Regions from separate parts of the Homo sapiens genome. Here region 1 is linked to region 2. Evidence: promoter capture Hi-C in 16 types of primary human blood cells and fetal thymus (Javierre and others, 2016). All regions are on one chromosome and are shown on one strand. Each heading gives the region's core, a stretch centred on a gene start or on the middle of the fragment in contact. The rest is flanking DNA. Distances are from core to core; before and after follow the strand shown. Region 1 overlaps DDB1 (damage specific DNA binding protein 1). Region 2 holds the start of TMEM109 (transmembrane protein 109).

Evidence for each region. Contacts are between HindIII fragments. The CHiCAGO score rates a contact against its expected background, and 5 or more counts as called.
Region 1: a contact is called between a fragment that was not itself captured here and the fragment with the promoter of TMEM109 in region 2, in 1 of 17 cell types (activated CD4 T cells). The highest score is 5.3, in activated CD4 T cells.

What each region holds. Positions count from the first base shown.
Region 1 is chr11:61,318,091-61,322,276 of GRCh38, reverse strand. DDB1 (damage specific DNA binding protein 1) reads left to right here. Exons shown (of 27, transcript NM_001923.5): 10 at 580-682. Among named protein-coding and RNA genes, the nearest start is that of DDB1, 13 kb to the left of the region's middle. The HindIII fragment of the contact is 3,172 bases long and covers 823-3,994 here.
Region 2 is chr11:60,911,729-60,915,778 of GRCh38, reverse strand. TMEM109 (transmembrane protein 109) reads right to left here and starts at 1,621. Exons shown (of 4, transcript NM_024092.3): 1 at 1,511-1,621. It overlaps TMEM109-DT (TMEM109 divergent transcript), which reads left to right and starts at 1,716. Exons shown (of 2, transcript NR_186356.1): 1 at 1,716-1,819; 2 at 2,302-2,613. RefSeq lists enhancers at 823-992, 387-1,385, 2,384-3,382 and a silencer at 1,173-1,332. The HindIII fragment of the contact is 3,992 bases long and covers 362-4,050 here.

The DNA of each region.
Region 1 (4,186 bases), core at 1,159-3,658, 410 kb before region 2:
TGGATAGTTGGTATATGCCCACTCAAACTGTGTCCTCCTAGCTATGCTTATCTAGAATGGGGAGGGTGCACTGAAAATACTTTTAAGAGCCCCCTCATGAATCCCAGTGATATAAGGATAACTACTGTTTATTGAGTGCCTATCTTGGTCTGCCAGGCACTTTATATACATTATCTCTAATTACACAAGTACCCTAGATAGGGATATTTGGCCATCTCAGAAGTGAGGAAAATTAGGGCTGAGAAAGATTAAGTAACTTTTTCCAAAGTCACCTAACTTAATAAGTGGCAGGTGTATCTAACAGATCCTGTGCTCATTCTAGTAAACTAGGTCCCAGCGATCTAAGCAAGCTTGCTAGGAGCAGTGGTAGAAGCTTTTTGCTTCCTGGACTAGGATGTCCTGTCTGCTCTGTAAATTTGAAAGACTTTGGAAATCAACCTCTGCCAAGTCTGCATCCTCAAACCTAGCCCCACAATAAAGGTTCTTGGATTTAGGTATACCGTGTTTACTTTCTGGGCATCAGTATGACTGGCCCAGTATCTTGAGGGGGTTCTTTAGAAACGTTTTCTCTGCTTGCAGCTGGTCACTTGCTCTGGGGCTTTCAAGGAAGGTTCTTTGCGGATCATCCGGAATGGAATTGGAATCCACGAGCATGCCAGCATTGACTTACCAGGCATCAAAGGTAGCTTTTTTGGTGGGCATAGGATGTAGATCTTACATGAGGGACTTTGGCCTTGTTACATGTTGTGAAGGCGTTTTGGTGGGAGCCAGAGGAAAGCAGATCAAGTGAAGAGTGAAAGTCGTAACAACAGATCAGAAGCTTAAACATATCTGAAAGTATAAAAGTAAACTTTAGAAAAAAAAAAAAAAGAAAATACTACTGATCAAAATTGGTAGTGGAATAGAGGACTAGGGGATTAAAAGATTATAAATTAAAATTAATGTTGTTTATATGAGGCAACCGATAGAATTCATAAAGAAAGGAGAGACTGAGGATATTTTATGAAGATATAAGTATAAATGTGGTTTCTAGATAAAAAATATAAATCTTCCTAAATTCCAGGAGAATTTTAATAAAAAAAAGATCAGAGGCTAGGCGAGGTGGCGTGGCTCATGCCTGTCATTACAGCACTTTGGGAGGCCAAGGTGGAAGGATTGCTTAAGCCCAGGAGTTTGAGACCAGCCTAGGCAACGTAGACCTCATCTCTATAAAAAAAATTAAAAATTAGCCAGGGGTGATGGTGCATGCCTGTGGTTGCAGTTACTTGGTTCTAGCCTAGGTGGAAGATCACTTGAGCCCAGGAGGTTGAGGCTGTAGAGAGCCATGATTGTGCCACTGCACTCTAGTTTGGGCGACAATGAGACCTTGTGTCACCAAAAAAAAAAAAAAGAGAGGCTACACAGTGAAAGACATTTAGAATGTATAAGCGTAACCTAAAACAGTATGACAGAATTGATATGGAACATAGCTGTCATGTCAGTAAATGTAAATGTCCTGTTTGAGGACAGCATAATCAGATTAAATCATAAAACAAAACCACCTTAAAGTTGTATATAGGAGGCACATCTTTAAAAGAGTAATTCTGAAGGTAGGTGCAGTGGCGTGTGACTGTAGTCCTAGCCACTTGGGAGGCTGAGGCAGGAGGATTGCTTGAGTCCAGGAGTTTGAGACCAGCCTGGGCAACATAGCAGGATCCCATCTCAATTTAAAAAAAGGAGTAATTCAGAATATGAAAAAAAAAGTATGGGAAAAGGTCAATAAAGAAATAGAAGTATGGCCAGGCATGTTGCCTGACACCTGTAATCCCAGCACTTTGGGAGGCTGAGGTGGGTGGATTACCTGAGGCCAGGAGTTCGAGACCAGCCTGGCCAACATGGTGAAACCCTGTCTCTACTAAAAATACAAAAAATTAGCCAGGCATGGTGTGGGTGCCTGTAATCCCAGCTACTCGGGAGGCTGAGACGGGAGAGGCACTTGAACCTGGGAGGCGGAGGTTGCAGTGAGCTGAGACTGCGCCACTGCACTACAGCCTGGGCCACATAGTGAGACTCCATCTCAAAAAAAAAAAGAAAAAAAGAAAAGAGAAGTATATGAAATTGCAAAGGAAGAGATCATATAACTACAAACCCAAGATAATCAACTAAAAAACTACTATAGACAATACAAATTCACTAAGATAGCAGGATGTAAAAGTAATGTACTGAAATTAATAGCTTTCATGTAAACACAGTCAATTAGAAAGCATAGTAGAGGAAAGGGGGCAATTTACCATAACAAGAAAATGATTAAGTACCAAGGAGTACATTTAACAAAATTGTGCAAAACCTATACAAGGAAAACTTAAAGATACTCCTGAAGGAGGAAAAGAACAAGTTGATCAAACGAAAAAGACACACCAAGTACTGCAAATCAGTATTATAAAGCTGTTCTCTCTTTATATTTAATGTACCTGAATATGTATACAATGTTTCCTTGACTTAGACAAGTCCAAATGGAAAAAGGAAGAAGCAGGCATAACCAGGAAAACTTTAAAAAGAGCAATGAGAGGCCGGGCGCAATGCCTCATGCCTGTAATCCCAGCACTTTGGGAGGCCGAGGCGGGCAGATCACAAGGTCAGGAGATCGAGATCATCCTGGCCAGCATGGTGAAACCCCATCTCTACTAAAATACAAAAAATTAGCCGGGGGTGGTGGCGCGTGCCTGTAGTCCCAGCTACTCGGGAGGCTGAGGCAGGGGAATCACTTGAACCCAGGAGGCGGAGGTTGCAGTGAGCCGAGATCGTGCCACTGCACTCCAGCCTGGCGTCACAGCAAGACTCCATCTCAAAAAAAAAAAGAAAAAAAAAGAAAGCAGTGAGACATGTTAGCCCTACCAGATACTGAAGCATACTGTTAAGCCTCTATAATTAGAAGTGTAGTATTGCTGATGAATAGGCAGAGTCTAATGGGCAGATTCAGAAGTCCAGAAATGACATAATTACATGTGGAAATTCAGTGTATGATAGTGGTGGCTTCTCAGTTCAGTGAGTAAAGTTGGGACTTTTTAAATTTTTATTTGTATTCATTTTTTGAGATAGGGTCTCACTCTGTCACCCAGGCTGGGGTACAGTGGCATGATCACGGCTTACCATAGCCTCAATATCCTGGGTTCAAGAGATCTTCTCTATGTCAGCCTCCCAGTAGCTGGGACTCCAACCATGCGCCACCACGCCTGGCTAATTTTGTTTGTGTTTGGTAGAGGTAGAGACAGGGTCTCCCTATGTTGCCCAGGCTGGTCTCAAACTCCTAGGCTCAAGCGGTCCTCCCGCCTTGGCCTTCTGAAGTGCTGTAATCACAGGCATGAGCCACTGAGCCTAGCCTAAAGTTGGGACCTAATAAATGGTGTTTTTGGGATAATTGATAGTCATTTGGGAAAAGACAAGTTTGGGTTCATACTGCCTGCCAAATGTACACTTGGCTAGAATCTAAATGGTTGAAAAACTTAATGTAAAAAAATGAAGCCATAACTATGACTCAAAGTACAGAAGCCAAAAAGAAAGATTGATAAATTCCAACTATATAAAAATAAAACACTTCATAGCAAAAGCAAAACAAAACACTATTAGGTAAGTCAGAAGAAATGACAAACCAGATAAAAATATTCTGTAGTTCATCTTATAGACAAAAGGCCCAGTCTTCCTAATTTATAACATATTTATAGAAAGATCACTAAATTTTCTGTCCCCAAACTAGCAAAGGACATGAATGGACAGGCAACAGTCCTGAGAAATGCACATTAACACCAAACAGCAGTACTCTACTAGATGACCAAAATCCAGAAGTTTGACCACACATTATGTTGGTCGGGCTGTGAGAAAATAAACATGCTTGTGCATCCTCTATAGAAGGGAATTGGGCAATATCAAAGACAGCAGTTAGCGATTTACTTAGTAGTCCCAGTTCTGAGCCTCTACCTGACCTTTATATGTATAAAGTGACATAAAAATACAAGCTTATTTCTTGTGGCATTGTATGTTATAGCAAAATACTGAATAAATATAATGAGAAGGGATTTGTTAATCTGCATAATTTAATAATTATAGATAAATGATTTACACAATTAAATACTGTGTTCTGATAAGGGCTTCAAGCATATATTGTTCAATGAAAGAACAAGGTGCCAAATAGTGCATGATAGACTATTTT
Region 2 (4,050 bases), core at 372-2,871:
GGTAGGATGGGGCATTTCGCGCCCCCCCCTCCCAATCAAGGCTCCTTCCTCCTCTTCTCTTTCCTTTTGTTAGTTTCATTTCATGCTATGAATCACCAGGTGGCAGGAGGGGCGGCAAAAAGTGCCCTCTACCGGCTCTGACTGTCCCGCCGCTGCTCATAGCTGCCCCTAAGGAGCGGCGGTTCTCAACTTTGGCTGCCCATCGGAACTGCCTGTGCAGCCTGTTAAACAAGGACGTCTGCCCCACCCAGGGCTACTCACTCAGACTCTTCCAGAGAGGGACTCAGCCCTTTGTTTTGCAAAGCTCCTCAGGAATTTCGGATGCATAGCCAGCAGCTCAGGGAAAAGTCTAAGCAAAGCTTCAAAAGTGCAGCAGTGTACAAAGGACCCCTGACTTCCGTCCCAGGCTCAAGTGTGCCACGGACTAGAAGCTACTACCTTACGCCTGTTACTTAACCTGCCTGAGTTGCAGTCTCCTCAAACGTAAAAGGGAGTGAACCCAGGTGAAGAGTTGCTGTAAGGAGTTAAGATATTTCTGCAGCAAGCGCTTTGTAAACTAAACATCTATAGAAATGTTGCAGCACACACATTACCACTGACTATATATCGTAGCATAATTTAGCAGTTTATCAACCTGCCTTCCCCAGTAGACCGAGCGACTCCCGGTTAGACTTGACATGTTGGAATCCCCAGCGCCTAGTAGGAAAGATGACTAATAAATGTTTATTAAATGAATATTAGCAACCTGCCAAGAAACCGTGAGGGTCGAACGAGAAAGCCATGGAGAGGTGAGGAGGGAGGTTATTTTAATAGTAGATCCAAATATACAGCAGCCACACGAGAAGCACAGCTGAGTCTAAAGGAAGGTCCTAAACAAGGCGAAGCCGCCACTGCAGAGAATGAAGTCAGCGCCCTGGCAGGTTGGGGGCAGCTCCCACTAAACCCCTGACAGCTGCTGCCCAGCAACTGTTTGGGGGCAGGGCGACGGCAAAGGGGCAGCTTCCCTGCCGCTCCGCGCCCTAACCGGGGCGCAGCCTCCCGGAGACAGGGTGTCAGTGGCATGTGCTATTTCGAACGGCGCGTCCCCTGCCAAGCGCTGAGGGGTAGCGTCGCTGGCAAGGAACGTGGCGCGACCCATGAGTTTGGGGCCCCCCGAAGGGCTCGAGCCGAGGCTGCAGGAGGCTGGGCCGTGGGTCGGGGTTCGGGGGCTCGGGCTTGGCGCTGGCCTGGTCCCCACGCCCGGGAGCCGCTCCACCTCTGCCGGACCTCGGAACCTCGCCGCAACCCTCTTCTCCCCGGAAACGTGCGCCTCCCGGGTTGCCTGGAAACGACGCCCCCGGTTGCATAGCAACGGGGATCCGGGTCCCCGGTTTGTTTCGCACGCTGGGCGCGCGGACCCCTCCCCACTCGGACTCTCCAGGCCTCGCGGCTCCGCCTGGTGCCGCCTGCAGCGGCTGCTGTCTCCCCTTCCCGTGCGCTGCCCCACATTCCGACCTCGGCCCGCTCTCACCTTTCTCAGGCCACTGCTATCCTTCACGTGCGACTTCGCTGAAACGCGCCACCAAACCCGCGCCTCAACTCGGGGCGCTGGTTTACCTTCTCCGCATGCGCAAGGCGGGATGAGCTCGGAGACTAGCCGGCCTTCCTCACAATCGAAGCCTGTGCCGGGAGCGCATGCGCCCCGCTTTATCTATTGCGTTTCTTTTTCCCCCCACAAGCATTCCCACCGAGAGAAGAATGGGATCGGAAGTTCCAGCAGGGAACGGAAGTCTCTGGCTGGAAAGGGGAAATAAGTGACTATATCTGGGCTGTAGAGTGGGTAAACTGGATCTTTGAAATCGGAGTGGAAGCTAATCCTCCTCTTGCCACCACTCGGCATTTTGGGTCATGTAGTTCTAGAGCTACAAATGTTCCCTGGGGCATTGTGGGCAATGTAGTTCTAACCGAGCCGCTAACGAGCACCTAGTCTTCCCATACACTTTTCGCGCTAAAAAGGCACAAAAGAGAAAGATATTAAAGGAGCAATTAAAAGCACACTGCTCTAGGAAAACGAATGCGCTCCCCCAGAGAGAAAATTCATACCTGAATACTGTAGACGGCTCCCAAATGTTAGCTCAGAATTTCAGAGAAAGAGAGGAACCAACTCTCACTCTCCTTTTTCTGCCACAAAGGCAGTGCATAGGGACAGGAGGCAGATAAATGCTAGGTAGAAAAGAGCGGGTCCCTGGTGAAACCCCACCCTCAAGCCAAAAAGCCTGAAACCATGGCCCAAAGTGAGAACTTCTATCCATGTTTTTCCAGTTGAATGTTGCCTTTTCCTAAGCCACCCATGGCTCTGCCCTGCCTCATCCTGTGCCTAGAAAGACCCCAGACTCATCTGGCAGAGAGGAGAAGCAGCTGGATGAGGGGACGACCATGGCTGGATGTCAGAGAGAAGCAGCTTGTCTTCAGAGGGACAGCTTAAGGCGTAACTTCTGAGACGAATCTGGCTGGAGATAGCTGGACTTCAAGGGAAGACTACATACCGGCCTGTCCCACCCCCCTCTTTTCAGCTCACCTTCCCTCTGAAATCCACTTTGATCAGCAATAAAATCCCAGGCATTTGTCCTTTAATTTGTTCGTGCAGCTTTATTTTTCTTGGACGCTGGACAAGAGCTCGGGAGCCACGAGTGCGGATACAAAAGCTGTCACGCTGGCCCTCTGCCCTTGCTGGTGGAGGGCAACCGCGGGCCCACGGAGCTGTTAACACTTAAGCTGTCCACGGACGACAGAGCCAAAAGAACACTGTAACATGCCCTCTGGGGCTTCAGGAGCCTCAGGCACTCTGCCTGGACACTGCCCCGGGGCCTGCACGGAGTTCGCTCCTGCCGGTGTCCAAAAGCGCACGCTCTGGCTCCTGCACCCACTCACCTGCACGCTCCCTCCTATGAGGGGTGGAACGCGGTGAATCTTGAGTGAGTGGAGTGTGATCCCACTGGTGCTGAAAAACGGCTGGCTTGTTCCAGCGCTTGTGCACTCCAGTTCCCGCCTTGTTCACTTGCGTACTCCCTCCCATGAGGAGTTGAGAGCAGCGGGCTGAGTAAACGGGGCACCCCTGTTGTGAGTCCTGTGAAAGGTCAGGGCAATATCCTGCTTCAGCAGCACCGTGAAGGAGAATGAACAGGGCTTCAGAATGAGGTGATCTCTTGCCTGTCGTGTGATCCTGAGCACACAGCTTCATTTCTCTGAGCCTTCATTGCTTGACGTTCAAGAACTATAAAGGACCTAAAAATACCACTTCACAGTAGGTGTGAAGTTTCAAGGAAGCAACAAGCATGAACATTAAAAAAAAAAAAAAAAATCCAGGTTGCTGACTGAATGTTTTTATCACCATCAAGAGCTGTCATAGGAGAGCTTCCTTTTGATGTTAAAACTTGTTTCTCAAACTCAACCCTCTAAAACGTAACTCTTCCCTCCCACCCCCAACCATTCAGCCTTCCAGTTCTGCCTTCCTCCTAGAGTACACACTCTGTAGGCTCCCAATCTGTCACCTCACCCAGTTGTTTCTTTCCATCAGATGTTCCTCAGACACATCCATCTTCATCTGAGCTCTTGTCACTTCCTGCCCCTCAGCTAAGAGTCCTTCTTCCAGGACAGGCTCTGGTAGCATCCTAAACCTCACCTTCCAGCTTTTCTAACAGTTTCAATTTTACATTTGCTTGTGCGATCCTTTCTGATGTCTAAGATTAACAATCTCAGGTCACAGACTTTCCTGGGAAAGAAATTTAACCTTTTTTTTTTTCTATGACAAATTAATTTCTTTTCAACTCTCTTTTCCATGTGGGTAGTAGAAACAGTCTCAGACAGTTCAGGGTTCTTCCCATCCTTGATTTTCAGGTCGTAGACACCTTTTGGAAAATGAATATAGGGCCAAAGTTGGGGGAGAAAATGTATCTAATCCTGGCCGGGGGCAATGGCTCACACCTGTAATCCCAGCACTTTGGGAGACTGAGGCAGAGGGATCACTTGAGGTGAAAGAGTTCAAGTCCAGCCTAGCCAAAATGATGAAAC